Regions from separate parts of the Homo sapiens genome. Here regions 2, 3 and 4 are each linked to region 1. The links are contacts of gene promoters, found by promoter capture Hi-C in blood cells and fetal thymus (Javierre and others, 2016). All regions are on one chromosome and are shown on one strand. The core of a region is centred on a gene start or on the middle of the fragment in contact, and the rest is flanking DNA. Distances in the headings are between cores, read along the strand shown.

Region 1 (5,660 bases), core at 1,588-4,087:
CCAGCACTTTCAGAGGCCAAGGTGGGCAGATCACTTGAGGTCAGGAGTTCCTGACCAGGTTGGCCAACATGGTGAAACCCAGTCTCTACTAAAAATACAAAAAATATAGCCAGGTGTGGTGTTGGGTGCCTGTAATCCCAGCTACTCGGGAGGGCTGAAGTAGGAGAATCGGTTGAACTTGGGAAGCGCAAGTTGCTGTCAGCCGAGATTGTGCCACTGCACTCCAGCCTGGGCAACAGAGCAAGACTCCGTCTCAAAAGATAAATAAAAATAAATATTCCTTCCTAAGTTTTATCCTAATGAACCTTCTGTATCATTCAAGAAAAGCCTTTTGCAAGATCCTGCTACTCTTTCAAAGTACTAGCGTTATCACCTTTCTTCCATCCTTAAGTTTTTACAAGTAAGCGTCAACCTTTTGCCCTTGTCTCCCACACCATTCTAAAATCATTGTAATCTGGTTTCTGTTCCAGCTGCTGAGGAGTCCCAAGCTGCCAAAGGACTAAACAGAGCAACCCATTCTCAGCCCTCAGACTCAACTGCTCTGATTGGCTTCTATGAAGACGCCACACCAATCTGTACTCTCTTCTTCCTCTACATAGATTAATACATGGAAGGCACTTGAAAATCTGCCTAGCTCAGAGAAAGTACTTTATAACCGTTAGCTAACTTATTATCTCCACTTATTCCTCCTCTTAACCTCTAACTACAGATTGTGTGCTTGGCAATTTTCTTTTCTCCCCCTCCCACTTTTTCTCTAGATCATGTCCTCTATTCACAAGGTTTCAATGAGCCCATCTGAAAGAATACAAATCTCTCCCATAAATCCAAACCTGTCTCCTGACCCCTAGACCACATTCAGCTTCTCCAAAGCTGTCTTTTTCCAATGACCTTACACTTTATCAACAGCATCATTATTTGCTCTCACCATTTTTCACGTCACTCTCTTACTCATCAGCACTATATGCAATCTATTCTCAAATTTGTCATCCCTACCTCCTCAATGTCTTTTCTATTTCCTAGCTCAGGCCTTCCTCATCACTCATATAATCTACCCCTCCAAACTGGTTTTACACTCCTCCAAAACTCAACTCCACATTGCTGTCAGACAAACCTTACAAACTCATAGCTCTGATTGAGTTACTAAGTCAAAATCCTTCAATGGATCTACCCTACCTTCCCTAAAAAGCCCAAACTTTTGAGCTAGGCATTCGAGAACCAACACAAAATAGATGGCACCGATCCCATCCCCTGGCATTCTCTTTATCCACAACCTGGCCAAGCAGGAAAATTCTTTAGGTCTTCTCTCACTGATGCCTACTGAACATCCCTCCCATATTTTCATACTTCAGCCTGTTGATATTTTACCAACCTTAAAAATCCACTTAAGGCCGGACACTTTGGGAGGCTGAGGTGAGTGGATTGCTTGGGGCCAGGAGTTTGAGACCAGCCTGGCCAACACAGTGAAACCCCATCTCTGCTAAACATACAAAAATTAGCCAGGCATGGCAGTGCGCACCTGTAGTACCAGCTACTCAGGAGGCTGAGGCACGAGAATCACTCGAACCCAGGAGACAGAGGTTGCAGTGAGCCAAGACTGTGCCACTGCACTCCAGCCTAGGCGACGGCGCGAGGCTGTCTTAAAAAAAAAAAAAAAAGTCCACTTAAAACTCCAACTCCTCCACAGGTTTGGGGGGTTTGTTTTTCCTGGTTGACTTCTTCCTTTACCCCAAAGACATTCACTCTCTGTTCCAAACATTCTTAGCAACTGGTAATGACTCTTTCAGGCCTGCCTACATTCTGCAATATCCTACAGCTATTTTACATAATCACCTTAAACTCCCTGCTTAATGAAAAGCTCTTTAAGGGCAAAGACCATTTTTTATGTATCTTTGTAGCCCTTTTGACAATTAACATATCTTCTGACTTTTTTAAAAGAGAAACCTAACCATTAGGAACAGCAAGTAGTGCAGAAGTCCTTGAAAACCTCAGCTACCCCTAGAATACCATGCTAAATGTCACCTAATGGAAGTCCAGGAGAAAGGACCTACAGTTTTTAAATAATCTGGATAGGAGGTAAGGAGGCAATGACTCAAAGTGAGGGCGACAAAAGACAACTCCCTCCGTATTTCACACCTCAGTGTTTTACACACCGTCCCTAGCAAAGGACCTTAAACAGAAAGTTAGGATAATTGGATTCCAGTGCCAACTATGCCATTTACTTGCTTAGTGCCTAGCCATTACCCTCTGAGCCTTTATTCATCTGTTCAATGAGAAGCTTCTACCAGAAGATCTCCAAGTCCCCTCCTTAGACTTCTCTTTTCTACAAAAAGATTAACCTGTTCAGGCACCCAATTCCCTGACAAGTCTTCAAAGCTTCATCCCAAGCCTCACTTCTTCAAATTCCATCTCCAACAACTCTGGTCCTGGCTGCTCTGGGTACTTCAACACCTGCGATCCTCATAATCAAAGCTAAGTCACAAACTGTCTGTCCCCATCGCTCCATAATTGATATGAAAGTGGCCTCGGGAGGGGCAATGCAACCTACTCGGGCAGAAGGTGGGCTTCCTCCTCCCGCTGCTGCTCCACATCAGGTGTGCCCAGTGATCCATAGCCGAACAGTGTCCCTAAGATTGCAGCCTGACTCCCCTCCCGCCTGGGTTCCCTCCTTTCCAGTACCCAACGCTTCTCTAAAACGCAGCCACAGCCCTTCTCACCCAGCAACTCGAGGTTCATCCCTGCGGACTGTGGCCGCCCGGTCTCAGCTCCGGCAACAACACCTTCTCCCCGGCCGGCTTCAGCAACTTGCGTCTAAGTGGTGGACGCCGCGAAGAGACTGGCGCAAGCTCCGAAGACTTTCGGCCTTAGAAGGCCCCGCGGCTTCCGCTTTCTTCCCCCGCCTTCCTTGTTCGTTTCAGGTGGGCTGCCCAAATATATGCCTGACCAAAATCAAGCATACACTCTCTCGGAAACAATTAATTATGATCTTTGCTGAGGTACAACAATGTTATCGTCACTAGGGACTTTAAATAGCGCGACAATTTAAGATTATTTGCTCCGGGAACATGTAGGTGAGGTAGAAATTCCAGGCATACAGTTAACCTACTAGTTCTTGCCCTGTTGTGTGTTCAGCGGCGTTGTCCGGGCGGGCTACCTCAGACTCCGCAGGAAAGGTTCCGGACAAGTCCTGCTAATGCAAGAAACCAGGGAAGGTCGTCCCCTAGTGCTCGGGTGTGTAGCGCCGCTGACCTCACCAAGGCGCGTACTTACCCTGTATGTAGGTGGCGTTGCAGGGTGTTTCGGTCTCGTGAAAATTATTTCTCATTTGTAAAGATATGCTATTGATCCTACAGAAAGGTACGACAACATATGTTAGGCCTGTCTGTGTTAAGATAATAAAAACCTTATTATCTAAGGTTTTACCCTTTACCAAACAGTGTTGACAGGGACGCTGTGAAAAAGACTGTGAAAAAGAATTGGAATGAGGGGTGGACTGAGTTTCCCGGAGCTCAGTCATACAGAACTCCAATGAAATACCCAAAGCAATTAGAGAAGTCCAGTTACTGGTATCTAGCGAAAGAGCAAATTTTATATGAACAAATTCCTACTATAAATGCTGTGGCTCATCAGAAAAAGGAAACAACGTCAAAGGCTCGCTGCAGAAAATAGTACTCGGGCTAGGTCTCCGACAATGGAAAAATACACATACACAAGTTTATTAATCGCAGTATTGTCTGCAATTGCAAACTTTTGGAAACAATAATGAAACTTTTGAACTAGGGAGCCCAGCATTTTCATGTTGCCCAGGGCCCTGCAAATTATGTAGCTAGTCCAGTCTGCCTCTACTTGACAAATTTGCAGAAAAAGCAGCCTCATTCACACAGTGCACCCTGTCCCTGGGCCCCAGTTGATTGCTCTTTCAGTAAGCCCCTGACCTAAGCTCAACCCAATTAAATTCCTTTCCCAAGAATTTGGAATGGGAATTAAGTGGCCCCCACAGTCTGACACATCGATTGAAGAGAGTAAATGTGAATTAAGGAGCTATTTAAAGCGCCTAATAATAGATGGACACCATGGTAGTTGGCTGCAGGTTGCAGAATGAAGCAGAAGTCCAGAAACTAGTCAAAGATAATACTTGGTGTATCCAATTAGTTCCCAAGAACATATTACATTAATGTCTTCTATTTCCATTATCCTTGGACCTTTATAAAGTATGTCTTTTGCAGCCGGGTGCGGTGGCTCACGCCTGTAATCCCAGCACTTTGGGAGGCCGAGGCGGGCTGATCACCTGAGGTCGGGAGTTCGAGACCAGCCTGATCAATATGGAGAAACACTGTCTCTACTAAAAATACAAAATTAGTTGGGCGTGGTGGCTCATGCCTGTTATCCCAGCTACTCGGGAGGCTGAGGCAGGAGAATCGCTTGAACCCGGGAGGCAGAGGTTTCAGTGAGCCAAGATCGCACCATTGCACTCCAGCCTGGACAACAGAGTGAGACTCTGTCTCAAAAAAAAAAAAATCCACAGTTTTTCTACTCTCCAAAGACAAAGGAAAACTTTGCATAAAGGCAAAAGCAACAAGGAAAAATATCGTGTGAAAACCACAGCCTAGTTTCCTCTAAATTCTCTGACTCTACTCTCAAATCCAAAGTAATCATATATATATGTATTTAGAGATATGGTCTCACTCTGTTGCCCAGGCTGGAATGCAATGACGAAACCATAGCTCACTACTGTAACCTTAAATTCCTGGGCACAAGTAATCCTCCTGCCTCAGCCTCCCAAATGCAGGGATTACAGATTACAGCTGTGAGCTACCACGCCTGATTCCAATGTAATAATTTTTACAGATTGGATGCTAATATAGCTAATGAAGTTAAAATTAAAGCTGTTAAAAATAAAAATAGTGAGGCCAGGTGCAGTGGCTCACACCTGTAATCCCAGCACTTTGGGAGGCAGAGGCCAGGCGTATCACGAGGTCAGGAGTTCGAGACCAGCCTGGCCAACATGGTGACACCCCGTCTATACCAAAAATACAAAAAATAGCCAGGTGTGGTGGCGCATGTCTGTAATCCCAGCTACTAGGGAGGCTGAGGCAGGAGAATCGCTTGAACCCAGGAGGTGGAGTTTGCAGTGAGCCAAGATCATGCCATTGCACTCCAGCCTGGGCAACAGCAAGACTTCATCTCAAAATAAATAAATAAATAAAATGAAAATAAAAATAGTGTTAGAAAACCCCTGAGGAATTTTCTTTTCTTTTCTTTTTTTTTTTTTTGAGAGGGAGTCTTGCTCTTGTCGCCTGGGCTGGAGTGCAGTGGCGCAATCTCAACTCAGCACCCGGCCCACTGAGGGATTTTCAGTACACCTTTTTCCTCACACCTCTTTTTCCCTTTCTACCCCTCCAATCCTATTTGGACTTTCTTTTTTTTTCTTTTCTTTCTTTCTTTTCTTTTTTTTTTTTTTTTTTGAGACAGAGTCTCACTCTGTCGTCCAGGCTGGAGTGCAGTGGCATGATCACAGCTCACTGCAGCTCAACCTCCAGGCTCAAGTGATTTTCCCACCTCAGTCCCCCCAAGTAGCAGGGACTATAGGCAGGCACCAACATGCCCAGCTAATTGTTGTAGTTTTTGTAGACAGGGATTCACCATGTTGCCCAGGCTGGACT
Region 2 (5,660 bases), core at 1,309-3,808, 650 kb after region 1:
GGAGAAGGGGGAAATGAGACAAGTGTGGTTGCTTTCGTATCTTCCACATTCAATTTCACTGTTGGTTTCTAATCAAATTGTATTATGAAAAGAACACACCCTGGGGAACTCTACATCCACCATAAGGTTGCAGGTATTATCTTGGGCAAGAATGGAATAAATGGAAAAGGTCCCAGAGGAGTCCCAAGAAGAAGACACTGTGTGGATGTTGCTGAAGAGTCCTGCTGGAATCTACCACCAAGTCTGCAGGTGCTGAGACTCCTTAAGGCTGAGTAAGTATTCCATGGGGAAAGCCTTTTGGCTAAGGAGAGAAACAGAGTAATTTCTGAGGTTTGGAAATATTATCTTTCACATCTGTGACAGGAATCAAAGCTAAGGGAAATTTAGACTAAACACTGAAAAAAAAATTAGCCAATTATATTCTTTGCTAAAGGAAAACTACAGCAATTGTTAAAAATTAACTATTAATAGCAGGCCACTTTTAACCCAAATCCGTGAAATAGGGACCCTTATATTATTTAGGAGTGGGAGGGCAGAGCGGTCAGGATAGAGTGTCTGAAACTTTGAACCTTTAATTTTGCCAGACTTAAATTTTTTGTTCCTTTGTTTTTGAGACAGGGTCTCACTCTGTTGCCCAGGCTACAGTGCAGTGAGTGGTGCGAACGGGGCTCACTGAAGCCTCGACCTCCCCAGTTCAAGCAATCCTCTCGTCTCAGTTTCCCGAGTAGCTGGGACCACGGCTACTTTCTTCTTTAATTTTTGTAGAGGTGGGGGTCTTGCCATGTTTCCCATGGCTGGTCTCGAACTCCTGGGCTCAAGCAATCCTCCCGCCTCAGCCTCCTAAAGTGCTGGGATTGCAAGTATGAACCACGGTACTGGGCCCTACTGGGGGTTCTTAAGGAGAATGTTTTAATTGCAATGTAAATGTTTGTTAATTTCTTTTTAAACTTCCATATGAACAGGAGCACACATTTTCAATTTTTCCATTGGTACGAGTTTTCCCCCCTTGAAACAAGTTCTTTTAACAGAGAGAAATAAAATTTTAAGTTACTCTCCCCCATCACCAGCTCTTCCTAGCTAAATACCTTCTAATTAACAATAAGGCATTTCTGCCTCTGAAAAAATAGTTGAGTCCAAAGGCCACACCCGGGAAAGAAATGAATGAACTCGGTGTCCCCTTCCTCCCTACCTTCTCCAGTTTGAGGAAAAAAGTGGTGGGAAGATAGGTCAGAGAAGTGGTATATTTCACATTCTTGGAAGAATTCCTTGGTTACCTTTATTTAAGCAATCAACGGACAAAAACACAGCTCATCAGCCCTCATGGGCATCTGACTGCGTAGCCAAGGGGCTCGTTCGGGGATTTTGTGTCTTCCATCCCACCCACAGCCCCACAACAAAGCTACAGTCCTTCAGACCAGTTCCGCTTCCTGCGTTCTCCCACTGAAGCCAGGTTAAACACCTTGCGGTTCCTCCCTCAACAGAGGGGCAGGACTACAGCCCCAGCCGGCACCTAACCAGGAGGCCCCACAGAGGATCTCAGCTGCTTCTGCTGATTGGAGAGATTTGCCGGACAGCTGAAAGGCTGGAGACTTAAGTTCACAGTACGCCTGCAATAAACAGCAATTGCTCATCCTCATCCTCCCTTCCCTATTTCTCATCTTCACGCCTTTGCTCTTACCTTTCTCCTGGCAGTGGGCTCAGTTTGGGAAAATCTAACGGGAAACTCAAGAGAGGCGTGTAAACCAAACACCCGGCAATTACACCATCTAGGTTCCCAGACAGTACTTCCTGACCCGAAGAAGGACCCAACAACCGACAGCAAATCCCCACCCCACTTGGGTCCCCAGCTCGAGTCCGCGGTCGGGGCCTCCTCCTCCCCCTCCCCCTCCCCACCCCCGAGACGTCTCACCTCCCACCGTGGACTTGTAGTGTTTGCTGAAGCTGTCCTGGGAATATCGCTGCACCAGCGACGTCTTGCCCACTGCGGCGTCCCCCACCACCAGCACTTTGAACAGGTGGTCGCGGCTGCCCATGGCTAGCGGGGTGTGCGTTTTAGGGAGGCGGGAAGTGTGGTCGGGGATCGGGGGTCGCTCGTTTTAACCCCTTTGGATCCGGACCCTCTTCAAACTGAAGTGAGGCATTCCCACCCACCGCCTGTCTGGGCTGCTCTGACGAGAAAGCAAAAAAGGAAACTTTGCACTCAACCTATACGCGCTTCCTCCCCGGGCGGCCGCAACCTGGGTGGGGCGCAGGGCGCGAGCTCCGAGCCCCCGGCTGTTCGCACCTTCCCCACCCCCTCCTGGCCTGACTGCCGAGAAACTGGACCAGGCGCCGCGGAACCTCACCCACCGGGACTTCCCCCGAGCGGCTCCAAGTCAGTGACTGAATCCCAGTCAGCTCCTTACACCACTGGGGCCAGATGATGGGGACCCTCCCCTTGCAGCACAAACCAAATTGTGAGGAAGGAGCAGCCGGCACCTCGATTCCCTAGACGCCCTCCCGCGCGCCTCTCTCTCCCCTTCCTCCGCAAGCGTCACGTGCAGGGTTGCCTGTGGCACTACATTTCCCAGCTTTCCTCGCGGTAAAGAGAACCAGCCGAGTGCGGAGGCTCACCGCGAAGCCTCCTGGGAAATGTAGTATATTCGTTATTTTGTTTTAAGCAAACCTACACCAAGTTTCAAGGCTTCAAACTCCCTCGACAGTTTGGAATCTTATTTTGAAACAATTCTAGGTCAGTAAAGATCCCTTAAGGGGAGATTTGTGCAACGTGATCTCACTGGCCTGAATCCATCCCCAGATAGTTTTCTCCTGTCTTTAAAGGTTTAACTGAGTTAAGATTGAAACTTATTTCATTAGTAAAAGCCCAAGCCTCATCCATCATGCTCCAAGTGAAGTCCATTTCCTATTCCTTCAAGTAGATAGACAAGCCCAGGACTTTGTGAAATGACTCATATTTTCTGTGTGAACTTGCCCAATACCAGGCAAGTTCAGGAAAACTTGACCCAAGAGACCAGTCTTTGGAAAAAAACCTATGCCAAAAATTACAGCATTTAATATCCAGCAATAACAATAAAGATGGACAGAAAACAAGAGACAGTTCTCCATTCATACTTCTACAATGCCTATTCTAGCCATACTACTCATGTATCACTTGAGCTAGAAGCTAATTGAAATACACTGGGACTCCTTCTTGATTTGTTGTGGCTGTTGTTAATAGATAATCATAAAACTAGTGTTTGGCAAATAATTTTAATTTCTCAGCCTGTAACTTTACTGACCTACCTGTCACTTGGGTAGAAGTTGGCAGGACATGAGCTCAATGGCAAGCAAAGAGAGCTCCATTTTCTATACTTTTCTAGGAATAGAGGAAGAGAACCAGCGGGGCCATGGGAAAACAGCCCAGGACCAGACACTAGGAAATCTAGGTCTCTTGATAGAGAGGCTATCACTTATGTTTTGTGGCGAAAGAACATCAGCATGGTTCACAATATATTTTGCCCAGAATGTTCGTTACCCAGGTACAGGAGGTTAGTTCAAGCTACTCATCTTTAAGGATCCAGTTTTCTCTGTTCTTATTCGTTTTGACATAGTTGACCACTCCTTGACATTTGTTTCCCTTATGCCTTCTATGACGCTGTTCTTTCTTTGTCATCCCCGTACTTCTCTGATGATTATCTTTTTCTTTCAGGTTTCTCTCCATCCCATTTCCCGCTAAGTATTTCCTAAGGCCTGATTCTTGGTCTCTGAGTCAATCATTCGATAAACTCTTTAGTGAATTGTCCTTGGTGTCAAAGATCTATCTTCACTTTATTTGTTCTTTATCTCTGATCAGTGATATTCTGTCAAGACCAGCTCTGTTGGGGAGACCCTAACCCAGTGGCGCTAGAGGAATTAAAGACACACACACAGAAATATAGAGGTGTGAAGTGGGAAATCAGGGGTCTGATTTCCTTTAGAGCTTTTAGAGCTGAGAGCCCCGAACAGAGATTTACCCACGTATTTATTAACAGCAAACCAGTCATTAGCATTGTTTCTATAGATATTAAATTAACTAAAAGTATCCCTTATGGGAAACGAAGGGATGGGCCGAATTAAAGGAATAGGTTGGGCTAGTTAACTGCAGCAGGAGCATGTCCTTAAGGCACAGATCACTCATGCTATTGTTTGTGGCTTAAGAATGCCTTTAAGCGGTTTTCCACCCTGGGCGGGCCAGGTGTTCCTTGCCCTCGTTCCTGTAAACTTACAACCTTCCAGCGTGGACGTTAGGGCCATTATGAACATGTTACAGTGCTGCAGAGATTTTGTTTATGGCCAGTTTTGGGGCCAGTTTATGGCCAGATTTTGGGGGGCCTGCTCTCAACATGTCCCTCTTCTCTGATTTGCAAATTGATAAATGCAAAGGCAGCTTTGTCACGGTGAGCTACTTCTCGCAGGAGTCAGGATACACATCTGCAGACTATACAAAGACAAACAACACAGATTAAAAGCACAATCATCATTGAAATCACAGAGCTTCCAAGTGTTTTTATCCATTTTCGGCTCCTTTAAGCACTCCAGTTCCTGGCATTAAGGTCAAGTGTGCCTCGGATGCTTTAAATATTTCTTCTTTTAATTTTAAATCCTTATGTTAAGCTCCTAGAGCGGGCCATATCATTTGAGGTTGAGGTGTCACTATACTGCCATGGTTCCAGATAATAGGAACTCTTGCTGTACTTCTTATTATATCTACCATCTGACCATTTTGTTCAGACCAGCTGAACATAGTGTGGCCGTGGCACGCAGACTGAGAGGTGCAATTCAAGCTAAACATCCCCTTAGGGGACCAATTAATAATGATTCCATAGGAATCATTGTGCAGCATCTCTGCCTGTTCTGCAATGCAATCTTCCTAAACAAGTACGTTCATTTTTTCTAACTGGGTCCAATCCTGTTTACAAATAAGTTTTTGAGGGCGGTATGCCTCAATTATAGGAGCAGATTTATTATGGTAAATACTGAGATCAGAAAGCATGTGTAACTGCGTCATAAAGTGATTGCATCCAGGCATTATTGCCAGCCAAGATTGATAAATATACCCAATAAGTATAATTGTTCTCTGTGTCAGCCCTTAATGAAGGAATACTCACGGCACTGGTGATAACCGCTATCATAGCTACCATTAACACTTTATTTGTTCTTTATCTCTGATCAGTGATATTCAGCTGCCCAAAAGGTGCCCCCACTTGGATGTCCTGCCACATCCTTCCTCTTACTACATTGCCATAAAAATAGCTCCTTTTCTCAGCTTCCCTATTTCTGTCACTGGTCTCATCATTTCTTGCCTCCATGTAGACTTCAGATTCTGAGCATTATTATTTCCTTTACACATGTCCCTTTATACCTATTTATTTGTTTGTTTGTTTATTGAGATGGAGTCTCACTCTGTTGTCCAGGCTGGAGTGCATTGGCATGATCTTGGCTCAGTGCATCCTCTGCTTCCTGGGCTCAAGTAACTCTTGTGCCTCAGCCTCCTGCGTAGCTGGGACTACAGGCGCATACCACCAAGCCTGGCTAATTTTTGTATTTTTTTTGTAGAGACAGGGTTTTACCATGTTGGCCAGGCTGGTCTTGAACTCCTGACCTCAAGTGATCTACCCGCCTCAGCCTCCCAAAGTGCTGGG
Region 3 (5,660 bases), core at 2,166-4,665, 630 kb after region 1:
ATTCTATAACAACTTGTAAGAGCTTATGTTTTCACATCTAAATTTTCAATGGTAAGGTTCCTTACAATCTCAAGTGTTAAACAAAAGGTATCAAGCACACTTAGGTTACAAGGAGAAGCAAAAAGATTGGTTTGAGCAACCTGGATCACTTTCAATAAGGGAGGAGGATCTCTGGAGAGTGTAACAGCTGAATTTCAAGAAATCTGGTTTCTAGTTTGGGCAAGTCAGTAAATCTGAGCTTTCTTTCTCACCTCTTACAAGTAATGGCATTTTCCTTCCTTCCTCACAAAGTTGACTCATGAAAGCACTTAAAAAAGTTAAAAATGTTACATACTATGTTCTTTAATCAGCACTAATAACATTAATATTGATCGGGCAGAAGGTACAGCGATCATGCGGGTGGGGACCAGAATTGGGAATTGGGAATTGGGAAATCTAGGTTCTCAGCCCAACATTTGCACCTGCTAGTTCGTGATGCAAGGCACCTCACTTATCCAGGTCCCCATTAAACTAGGTTTAATAAAGTGAGTTTGCCTAAACCTCTTCCTAGCTCCAAGGCTAATTTTAAGCTATTAATTTGAATCCAAGGCCTAAAATATTTGAGCTCTCATTTAACAGTCGGCCACTGCAAAGGGTAAAGACAGCAATCTTGTATGAACAAAGTTAAACATAACGTGCTAGACACAGGTCTTTGCAAAACCATGCAGTAGCCAATAGGTCCACCATACCACCCTTCATTTGGAAATTGATGCTAAGGTGCCATAGGTACATTTCCAAATGCTCTTAAAATGTTTAGGTTCATATTAAAATAAAAATGGATATTTATGGTACAATGAGAACCAGAAAAACTGCAAAATTATACACAGGCCTAAGGGCAGAAATACCCCAAAAGACGACACAGTGACAATATTTTCCAACTTGTGCTTTTTTGTTTTTAAAACAAGGCTGATGATTCTGAAATCAGGTCAATGTCTATCACTTTTTTCGTTGATGTTAAATGCACTAAGGGAATATAGATTCTTCAATTATACTTTGAAACAACATCATTTCCCTAAGTCAGGACTTTTTTATTGCAAAATTTAACAAACCACCAAACTCAAGTTTAATTATTTCTGCTTTATTATTGGTCATGAATAAAGACTTCTTTTAAAAAATAATTACAAAGAATTTATGACTAAAATATACTCCGTAACCAACTTGCTCTGAAATTAATAATTTGAAAATGGCAAAGAAAAAAAAAAACAGCCCACAACATATTAACTTCACTCTTCAATTAGGGGAAATAAACAAGGTCAAAATTAGTTTAAACAACATACTGAGTAATAAAAAAGTTGTGCAGAAGTCCCAATGCCTCCAAAAAACTGATAGAATGTGCTTAATATATATATCCCCACATGGTAACATAAAAAATCCAAGTTTTCCAGTAAAAATGTTCTGTTCATGTTCCAATACCTAAATCTGGGAAAACAAATTCAGGCAGATGAGATAAGAACGTCACCACAATAAAATAAAGTCATCAAAACTTAGTGAACTAAAATTTAAAAGGTAGAGGAATTATTTTTCCTAATTTGACCTAATTTGACCACACAGTAATTACTTCCAGAAGACAAAAGATCCAATCCAGGTAAAATAAATCTTTATTTTATTATTTTACCTGATCCTAAAGAAAATATTCTACGTGAGTTGATGGATACATTGGTCAAGTTTTATGCCAAAAAAATTACGCAAACTATACTCTGAAAGAGCTATCCAGACTCCTTGCCAAAAGGCCAGCATAACTTTCAGAGTAGAGATCGTGAGTTACCACAGATGCTGATTGAAACAGAGCTAACAGCAGCTTTCTCCTCATTCCCACCCCGTGTGTAGGAGTACGCAGTCTCATACCACCACCAGTTGGAGGATGATCTAGTCTGGAGACAGAACGGTGTAGAACAAAACCCTTGCCAGGGTCCCAAACCTCTCTTTAGAACTCTAATTAAAGGTACTTCCGTTTCCCACACAACTTGGAATGAAGGGGAAGCAACGACTGTTAAAACATTTAAAAACTAAGCCTTTATCTATTTATTTAGAAAACACACTATGCAAAGAAGCCAATTCCTTACATTAAAAATATTTATTTGCAACAGCTCTCCTTTTTAAGGCCTCAACAGATTGGACTAAACCACACCCCTCCATAAATGGCACATTCCATACAATAGCCTGGAGAATGGCATAGGACGATTCCACCGACAGCTGGGGGAATAGCAAACTTGTTGAAATTCCGAGAATGAAGTCTGATGGTTACCCGAACCTAGCCCTTTTATTACTAAAGTCACTCGGGGACAAGAGGGTTACAAAAATATCCCGAGACGCGTACGCGGGTGAGAGTGGAACGAGAACCACACGGGATTTGGGCCGTGCTGTTAACCCGCACCTCCCTGAGTACGGACATTTCCCCGAGGAAGGACATTTCTAGTCGGAGAGAAAGAGCGAACTTTGGGGTTAACTCTCTCAAAACTCTGAGGTGGGGAGAGAGGCAGCAGCCCATTATTTTCCAGGATCCAGTCCCGAACTCTCACTTTTGCCCGGGGGGAAAAAAACGGGTCCCGCCCACGCTCGGCCCGATCCGGGAGGCGGGGCCTGCAGCGACCCCGAAGGACAGAGGCGGGGCCGGTTGGCAGTGCTGCCCCTCCCCCTTTGCCAGGAACACCCCCGTCCGCTACAGAGAGGGCTCAGGGCCCCCACCCCCGCGCCAGTCGCTGGGGGAAGGGGCAATACGGGTGCCTCCGCCCCTCCTCGCTGAAGGTGGGGAGTGGAGCTCGAGTCCGCCCGCCTCCCCGCGCTGGCTCCAAGGGGACGGCCCCGAGGAGGTGGGGCCTCTTGGGGGCGCTGACTTCACACCCCTCCCCCTCCGGCCGCTGGCGGCTCAGGGACACCCCGCCCGCTCTAGTGCGGTGGGTGGGGGAGGCAGCTGAGCAGACCGGAGCCCTGCAGCGGCGCGGGGCGGGGAGGGGCGCGCGCACGGGCGCGCAGCCACCACCCCCGCGCGCCAGCAGGGCCCCCCACGCTCAAGGGTGCGCGCGGGCCCCGAAAGGGAGGAGGCCGCGCGCGGCACCGGGGATGGCGGACTCTAGCCTTCTGTCCCCCACTCTTTTCACCACTCGCCCCCATCCCCCTCCAACCCGCTCCAGGCCTCAGACTCCGCACTGACCTGACAGGCCGCGACATGTTCGCTGTCGAAACAGGACCGAGTCGAGAAGCCAAAGACCAGGACCCCCCCCACCCCGCGCGCTCGGCGCCCCACCCCCCCCGAACTTCAGCCGATGGGACCGCTGCTGCCGAACCCCGAGCTGCTGGCTTCTCAAACTCCGCTGCTCTTTGGTTCAGGGCTCCTGGAACAGACGAGCCCCCCGCTCCCCCGTCTCTTCAAAATGGATGAATCAAACCAGCCGAAAATGCGCCAAAGCCGCCGTGCAACCAAACCCACTAGGGTTTGTGCGCTCCTCCCCAACACGCCTGCTCATTGGAGACTTCTGCCAGATGCGCCCAGATCATTAGTCCGTTTGAATCATCACGTCTTCCAGGCCCCGCCCTGCTCTCTGATAGGCTCCACCTTCACCGTGGGGGTCCTGTTAGTCAAGATGCTCTGAGAGCGCACGGCCGCAAAACAAAAATGGTCGCTGCTTAGCCCGCCCCCTGGTTTCCACTCCAGAGTTGCAGATTCGTCTGGGGTCGTATCTTAGAAAGACTAGAAAAAAAGATTTATGTAGGGTTCAGCGTTGCTCAGTGTTAGTTTAATGGTGTTTCATCTCGTCTGCCTTGATCACCTTGAAAATCCTCTAATAGCAAAACCCGTGGGAGAGGCAGCAGATTCGTCACTGCGGGGCTGCTACAGAATTGGAGGGAAATTCCTTAGGTTCAAAAAATTTGACCTTAAACCTACAAGCCCCTTACCCTGGCTTCGGCATTAACCCTCAGGGACCAAATGAGGCTGCTGGAGTAGAGAGGCAGGATCATAATCAAGGAATATCTTCACCCCCAATTACCATTCTCCATTCTGGACCTTGAGATCCACTTCAGGGTCATTAAAGTCCCAGTCTGGTGCATTACTATTTTAAGAAAAGAGTCAGGTGTACAATAACTAAGAGCATGAGCTCAGGGGCCACAAGGTATTTCAGGTGGAATCCCAGGTCCACTACTTAATGGTGGTATAACTTTCCTTCTCTGTGCCTCAGTTTTCTCATCTGTAAAATGGGAAACAAGGGTACCTAACTGCATAGGCTTATTAGTATTAAATGAGTTGATATATCTATCAAAAGTCTTTAGGATAGTCTCTGGCTCACAGTAAGTGCTACGTAAGTGTTAAATCCAAGTTTTAAAAGATGATTCCGTCCCTGGGTAGAGATGGGTGGAGCTGGCTCAAGACCCTATGAATTCTATTGATTTACCCTTGCACTTTGAAAAACAAAACAAAGACTCTTCGAAGTCATATAACTGAAAGTAACGCACATCATTTCACTTAAATCCGTGAGCATTTGTTGGATGCCTAATACTCTCAAAGGCAGAGCTCAGGATTCCTATGTGAATGGCTAAGGCTGAGTCTGCTATCGAAAATAGACGTCAATCCCTGTCACAGTCAAAGCGATCATTTTTGTTTGGTGGCTGTGCGCTCTCAGAGCATCTTGACTAACAGGACCCCACGGTGAAGGTGGGGCCTATCAGAGAGTAGGGTGGGGCCTGGAAGACGTGATGATTCAAACGGACTAATGATCTGGGCGCATCTGGCAGAAGTCTCCAATGAGCAGTCAGTTAACAACCAATTGAAGATACACTTTCCAAACAACAACAACAAAAAACACACCACATCTGCCTCCTGAAAGTCTCCCTTTGTAAAATCTGGCTTCCCAAAAAGAAGAGAATAGCACAGTCCACCAGTGAAGCATTAAACAAATTAATATCTTTTGTCTCTTCCATGTCATTCCACCCTCTGTCCCTCTTATTTTTATTTTTAATTTTTATTTTTTCGAGACGGAGTCTCACTCACTATGCTCCCCAGGCTGGATTGCAGTGGCACGATCTCTGCACACTGAAACTTCCACCACCCGGGTTCAAGCGATTCTCCTGCCTCAGCCTCCCAAGTAGCTGGGATTACAGGCGTGCTCCACCATGCCCAGCTAATTTTGGTATTTTATTGTGGAGATGGGGTTTCACCATGTTGGCCAGGCTGGTCTTGAACTCTTGACCTCAAGTGATCTGCCTGCCTTGGCCTCCCAAAGTGCTGGCATTACAGGAGTGAGCCACCGCACCCGTCCCCCGCAATTTTTTTAAATTGTGGTTAAAAAAAAAATACATAACATAAATGTACCACTTTAACTGTCTCTAAGTGTACAGTTAAGTGGCGTTAAGTACATTCACATTGTTATGCAACCATCACCACGATTCAACACCAGAACTTTCTCATTTTCCCAAACTGAAACTCTGTGCCCATTAAACACTAACTCCCCACTTTCCCCCTTCCCCATAGCCGCTGGCAACCACCATTTTACTTTCTGTCTGTATGAACCTGACTGCTCTAGGAATCTCATGTTAGTGTAATCATACAGTATTTGTCCTTTTGTGACTGGCTTATTTCACTTAGCATAATGGCATCCAGGTTTATCCATGTTGTAGCAAGTGTCAAA
Region 4 (5,660 bases), core at 1,113-3,612, 520 kb after region 1:
CTATCCCTTTTTCCTAAAGAAGTGTTTCACGGATTTTTGACTGACTAAGCAAGCATGGAGCCATCCAGTTGCCTGTTACGTCTTTCAAGCAATATCCTGTAGCACGTGACATTAAGAAGAGATATCTTTTAAGTCAAAGACAGCACCCACAACCCCAGGTGGGGACAAGTGTGGAGCAAATTGCAACATGACTGAGAAGAAAGAATAAAAATCTGGGATATCTGGGTTCTAGCCTTTGGGTCTCCCTAAACTCAAAACTTGAACCTCCTGAGAAAATCCTTGCGACTTACCCTTTCTGGGTTTCACTTTCAACATCTTTAGAAATAAAAGAGACATACCTTTCACTTCATGTCTGTAATGGATAGACTAAAAGAAAAAGGCAGTAGGCTGGTTGTGGTGGCTCACACCTGTAATCCCAGCACTTTGGGGGGCTGAGGCAGGTAGATCACCTGAGGTCAGGAGTTCAAGACCAGCCTGGCCAACATGGTGAAACCCCATCTCTGTTAAAATACCAAAAAAATTAGCCAGGTGTGGTGGCAGGCACCTGTAATCCCAGCTACTCAGGAGGCTGAGGCAGGAGAATGGCTTGAACCCGGGAGGTGAGGGTTTCAGTGAGCTGATACCGTGCCACTGCACTCCAGCCTGGGTGACAGGAGCGAAACTGCGTCTCAAAAAAAAAAAAAAAAAAAAAGCGGTTGATCAAATGATGCTTTGAACTCTTGGTAAATAGCCCTATTGCTGTTATATTTGTGTGGACTGAGATCTTAGATAGAGGTAAAGTTATCTTTGAAAAGAAAACTCTGGCTAGCTGTATATTGAATCTGGCAGCACTGGCAACCCCTACTACCTGTTAAGGTCCTAAACTTTACCAAATATAACCAGTAAACGTTTCATCCCCAATAATAAGGCTTTTAATCAGAGGGTATTAAGGGTCCGGAGAAAACCCAATCTGAAGGTCATTGAACAAGGTACTTGTGGCCTCTAGACTGTGAAGTAAACTCATGGCAACATCTTTCAGGACTAGCTGTAATCTCCACACAATACATTGTTTTTTCAGAGAGGACATGACGAGACATGAGTTATTGCAATTACCGCCTGAGGCATAGCAACTGTCTAATATGTTTGATGACCTGTCACAAACACAGGTCAGAAAATAGCTTCATATAATTTTCATTCTTGATCTCTACACCCAGTCTACTTATTTTCTTTTAATATTTTTAACCTCAAGTAATTTTATTGGTCTTTGATAAATGTATTATTTCTAGACTTATAAAAATTGATATGGAATATGTAATAGAGAAAGAAGAGAGAATATATCAATTTTTTTTTGAGACAAAATCTCACTCTGTCACCCAGGCTGGAGTGCAGTGATGGGATCTCGACTTACTGCAACCTCTGCCTGCCGGGTTCAAGCGATTCTCCTGCCTCAGGCACCTGAGTAGCTGGGATTACAGGCGTGTGCCACCATGCCTTGCTAATCTTTGTGTATTTAGTAGAGACGGGGTTTCGCCATGTTGGCCAGGCTGGTCTCAAACTCCTGACCTCAGGTGATCTGCCCACCTTGACCTCCCAAAGTGTTGGGATTACAGGCGTGAGCCACCTTTGGAAAAGGTGTTCCTTAATTGATAAAAGCTCATGAAATCTGCCTTTTGTATAATTGTTTAAGATTCTGGTGTTTGGACCAGCTCCTTGCAGAATACATATTGCTCTGAATTTTAAGCCAAAATAATTTTTCCTCTCTGGTGTATTTTATAATCACTGTCTGGAAAAAAAACTTCTTCAATTAAAGTTAATTAAGGAAGCACCAATATATGATACTATGCTGTTATTACAGAAGAAACTCAAAGAGCATTTGCTCTTCTAGGAATTCTGAGTCTTGAATTGGCAACACTGACACCCTCAGCGACCATCATTGCTGTCCACGACTTCCAGCATTTTCAGAATTCTTTTGCTATCCCGTTGACATGAACAAAGAATTCAGCTAAGGATTCAGAAATGATGGGAGAGGCAGTCAGGCTGACAAACGAAGATATAAGTGCAGCTCTGAGCAGGGTTTTGTGTTGTGAGGGAAGTAAAATGAGGGTTTGGAGAGAGTAAAATTACCACCTCCCACTGCATTAAAGAACATTTCCTGGAAAGGGTGGAGTTTGAAAGACTTGGTGCTAATTCAAAAAGATGGAATGCCATCTTTTTTTTTTCCTTGCTTTATATATCCAGCAGCAAAACAAAATTGTTCTGCTGTGCTAGAAAATTTGGCTTGTGAGTCGTGTACACAACTCAGGAGTGTGACACAGCTACCAGCTTTCCTCCTAACTCTCAAGGGAAGAAAATTCAAGTTCTGTCTAGGCTCACTCTGTAAAGTGGGAAACTTGCTGGTTTTGTAGGCTTTTTTTCCCCTTCTTTCCCTCTCTCAGCTTCTCCCTGCTTCTCAGAAGATGGAGTTGTGATGCCTGCAACTTACCAAATTTATCTATGAATCAGATTCCAGTGGGAGACCCCTAAAGCAGAGGGAGAATAAGGAGTTCTCCCCATGATGGAAAATATCCAAAGACAAGGTTTCATGGAGCAAAGAATTCTGGCTAGATTTGGTTTGTAAGTGGATCCCTCCCCACTGTGTGTACACTTTATCTGTCTCTTTGCTTCTTCCCCACCCTCTTTCCCAGCTCTCTCTCTGTCTCTCTCTTGTTCCCTGACCCTTTTTTCTTCCTATGCATACTTTTTTCTTTCCCTTTTTAATCTCTATATCTTAATCCTACCAATGGCCCTCTGAGAATTTATTAGCCATGATAGGGATTCTTAGGCCTGAGATTTCTTATCAAAAAATATTTTTAAAGCATTAACCGTGTGCTGAGCTCTGTGCTGGATACTTTAGGAGATTCAAAAATAAGACCAGTCTCTTCTCTTCAGAAGTTTCCAGTAGATAAAGGGGTAACATCACTATAATATAGGAAAGAGTATTTAGTGGAGGTAAAAACTACGAATGTTGAGAGTGTTGAGAGTAGGGAGGAGAAGATCAGGAGAATCTTCGTGTTCCCACCAGAGAACCAACCTGACCACTCCAGGGTATGGTATTCAGGCATTTGGCCTGAAATGTCTTCTTCTTTACTCTCTCCCATCTGACTGTCTCCTACTTTAGGGCTCAGCTTAGATGTCCCCGATTCCAGGAAGTCCCCTAACACCCTAAACTAGGTTTGGGACTTTCCAGTGTCTCCCATCATGTCCAGTACTGGTCCTTGCAGCACTCTCCACACTGACTTGAAGTTTCTTACTTGTCTCTTCAAGTGTTGGAAATGAGTTCTGGAGAAGAGAGCCCAGGTTGTTTACCTTTGCAGCACAGTTGCAGAATAATCCCTGCCCCAGGAGTGGCTCAGTAAAGGTTTATTGAAGAGATCATCCAGGAAAAGGGAATGGCATGGCAGAGCTCAGAGGCACAAACTGCCTGGCATAGAGATTTGCAGCGTGGCTTGCGCTGGAGTCCGTTTCGTCTGCCTCTCCACGGCCTTTGCTTCACCCACTACTGCCTCTCTTACGTTCGGCCTCTCACCTCCCTCTCCTTCTGCTAGTAAACATGCTCAAGTCCCACCCATTTAGAAAACTTCCCCCTTCAAGTATTAGCCTTTCCTTCTCTTTAGTATCAAACTTCAAAAAATAATGGTTTCTATCTCCTGCCTACCCATCCTCACCTTCTGCTTACTCTTCAGCCCGCTGAATCTGTCTGCTGTCTCCACCACTGACTTTTCCGTAGTAAAGGCTACAGCTATCCTGATTGCCAAATCTCACATTCCCTTTTCAGGAACTGTCCCGTTCGCCATCTTCGGCTGTTCCTCAAGACCAGTTTAGATGTTGCCTCCTTAGGTACACATCCCTGACCTCCAGAGCAGACTTAGCTGTCCCTTCCTGGCACCCTCTCGGAAACACTCTCTTCTCTTGGCCTCTGTGATTCTTCTATCTCCCTAACCAGTTTTTGTCTCTCTTTTGGGACTTCTCTTCTACCAGCTCTGAAAGAAAGTTCTGTCCTTGCTTCAGGTTTCTATCTTCGGCCTGTTGTCCTTCAACACACTCCCCATAAGGGACCCCATTCTCTCCAAGCCTTCGTTCATCACCCAGATGCTAATGAGCCCTAACCTTTATCCTGTCTTCTGTGAACTCTGGATCCGTTTCCAGTGTCCTACAGGATTTCTCCACCTGAATGTCCTCATGACACTTCCATCTCAGAATATACAACTTGAACTCATTACTTATACCTGCCACACCAAACCCTTTCCCAGTTTCAGTTGATCCCCTTTCCCAGTTTCAGTTGAAAGCGTTACCCAGACACCTCAGTCATCCTCAACAATTCCTTCTGCCTCACCCTCCACAGACAATTGGTCACCATGGCCTGATGCATGTACCTCTAGAATATCTCACATTAATCTGTTCCTCATGCCTGTCCCCAAGGCTCTCATCATCATCTCTCTCTCTTTTTTTTTTTTGTTGAGACAGAGTCTTGCTTTTTTTGCCCAGGCTGGAGTGCAGTGGTGCTATCCTGGCTCACTGCAACCTCCGCCTCCCAGGTTCAAGTGAGTCTCATGCCTCAGCCTCCAAGTAGCTGGGATTACAGGTGTGTGCCACCACTCCCAGCTAATTTTTGCTTTTTTTTTTTTTTTGGTAGAGACAGGGTTTCACCATGTTGGCCAGGCTGGTCTTGAACTCCTGGCCTCAAGCAATTTACCCACCTTAGCTTCCCAAAGTGTTGGGATTACAGGTGTCAGCCACCGTGCCCAGCCTGTCATCATCTCTTGCTAGGACTATTGCAGTAGCCTTCTAATTTGTCTCCCAATAACAAGGCAATCCAGCCCATCCTCCACATTGCCACATGGAAAATTTCTGAAGTACACATTTGATTGTGTCACTCAGCTGTTTTAAGAGTAGCCAGTGATTGATTTCTCTGCTGCTTCCAGGATCAAGTTCAAACTGTAACCTGAAAGACCTGTAAGCAGCAAAGTTTAAAGGCCATATCACCTTCCACTGTTCCCTACTTTCACCTTTCACTGTCTAGCTCTTTTTAAGCCTAATCCCCTCCTTCATAAACTATATCCCCTGCAAACACATAAAGCATTTTCAGGACTCCAGCCTTTTGTTTATATAGTGCTCTCAGCCTGGATTGTCTCCTCTATCCGATGAGATTCTGAAAAACTAAATGCTGTGTCAGTCATCTCTGTATATCCAATGGGTCCTTGCCCAATGCCTGGCATAAAATAGGGACTTAGTAAATTTTGAATGATTAATTCCCACTTCAAGGAAGACTCAGCTCTCAAATGTTATTTCTTCCCTGCTTCCCCTGACCACCTCCCACCTCTACCCCATTAGATGTGATTGTTCTTCCTGTGGGAATGTTCCTATTTATTTAACAAATATTTTGTGAGTTCCTGCCATACACCAGGCACTGTGCTAAGAAAGAGGAATATAAGATGCTTTCAGGGCCAGGCACAATGGCTCATGCTGGTAATCCCAACACTTTGGGAGGCCGAGGTGGGCAGATCAGTTGAGCCCAGGAGTTTGAGACCAGCCTGGGCAACATGGCAAAACCCCCTTTCTATTAAATACAAAACTTAGCTGGGCATGGTGGCATGTGACCGTAGTCCCAGCTACTTGAGAGGCTGAGGTAAGAGGATCACCTG

What was found. Contacts are between HindIII fragments. The CHiCAGO score rates a contact against its expected background, and 5 or more counts as called.
Region 2: the fragment with the promoter of RAB29 here is called in contact with the fragment with the promoter of RBBP5 in region 1 in 5 of 17 cell types (non-activated CD4 T cells, naive CD4 T cells, neutrophils and 2 more); the score reaches 7.9 in non-activated CD4 T cells.
Region 3: a contact is called between the fragment with the promoter of NUCKS1 here and the fragment with the promoter of RBBP5 in region 1, in 3 of 17 cell types (activated CD4 T cells, naive CD4 T cells and total CD8 T cells). The highest score is 6.1, in activated CD4 T cells.
Region 4: a fragment that was not itself captured here is called in contact with the fragment with the promoter of RBBP5 in region 1 in 1 of 17 cell types (total B cells); the score reaches 5.1 in total B cells.

The regions. Positions count from the first base shown.
Region 1 is chr1:205,119,141-205,124,800 of GRCh38, forward strand. RBBP5 (RB binding protein 5, histone lysine methyltransferase complex subunit) reads right to left here and starts at 2,838. Exons shown (of 14, transcript NM_005057.4): 1 at 2,715-2,838. The coding sequence starts at 2,733. RefSeq lists enhancers at 898-1,456, 2,620-2,799, 2,940-3,159 and a silencer at 3,521-3,815. The HindIII fragment of the contact is 6,684 bases long and covers 2,372-5,660 here.
Region 2 is chr1:205,772,924-205,778,583 of GRCh38, forward strand. RAB29 (RAB29, member RAS oncogene family) reads right to left here and starts at 2,559. Exons shown (of 6, transcript NM_003929.3): 1 at 2,350-2,559; 2 at 1,910-2,163. The coding sequence starts at 2,033. RefSeq lists an enhancer at 1,424-1,473. The HindIII fragment of the contact is 8,570 bases long and covers 1-5,660 here.
Region 3 is chr1:205,746,767-205,752,426 of GRCh38, forward strand. It overlaps NUCKS1 (nuclear casein kinase and cyclin dependent kinase substrate 1), which reads right to left and starts at 3,416. Exons shown (of 7, transcript NM_022731.5): 1 at 3,191-3,416. The coding sequence starts at 3,207. RefSeq lists a silencer at 2,590-3,189 and an enhancer at 3,610-3,859. The HindIII fragment of the contact is 8,985 bases long and covers 1-5,660 here.
Region 4 is chr1:205,634,869-205,640,528 of GRCh38, forward strand. No RefSeq gene overlaps it. Among named protein-coding and RNA genes, the nearest start is that of ELK4, 5.7 kb to the left of the region's middle. The HindIII fragment of the contact is 9,419 bases long and covers 1-5,660 here.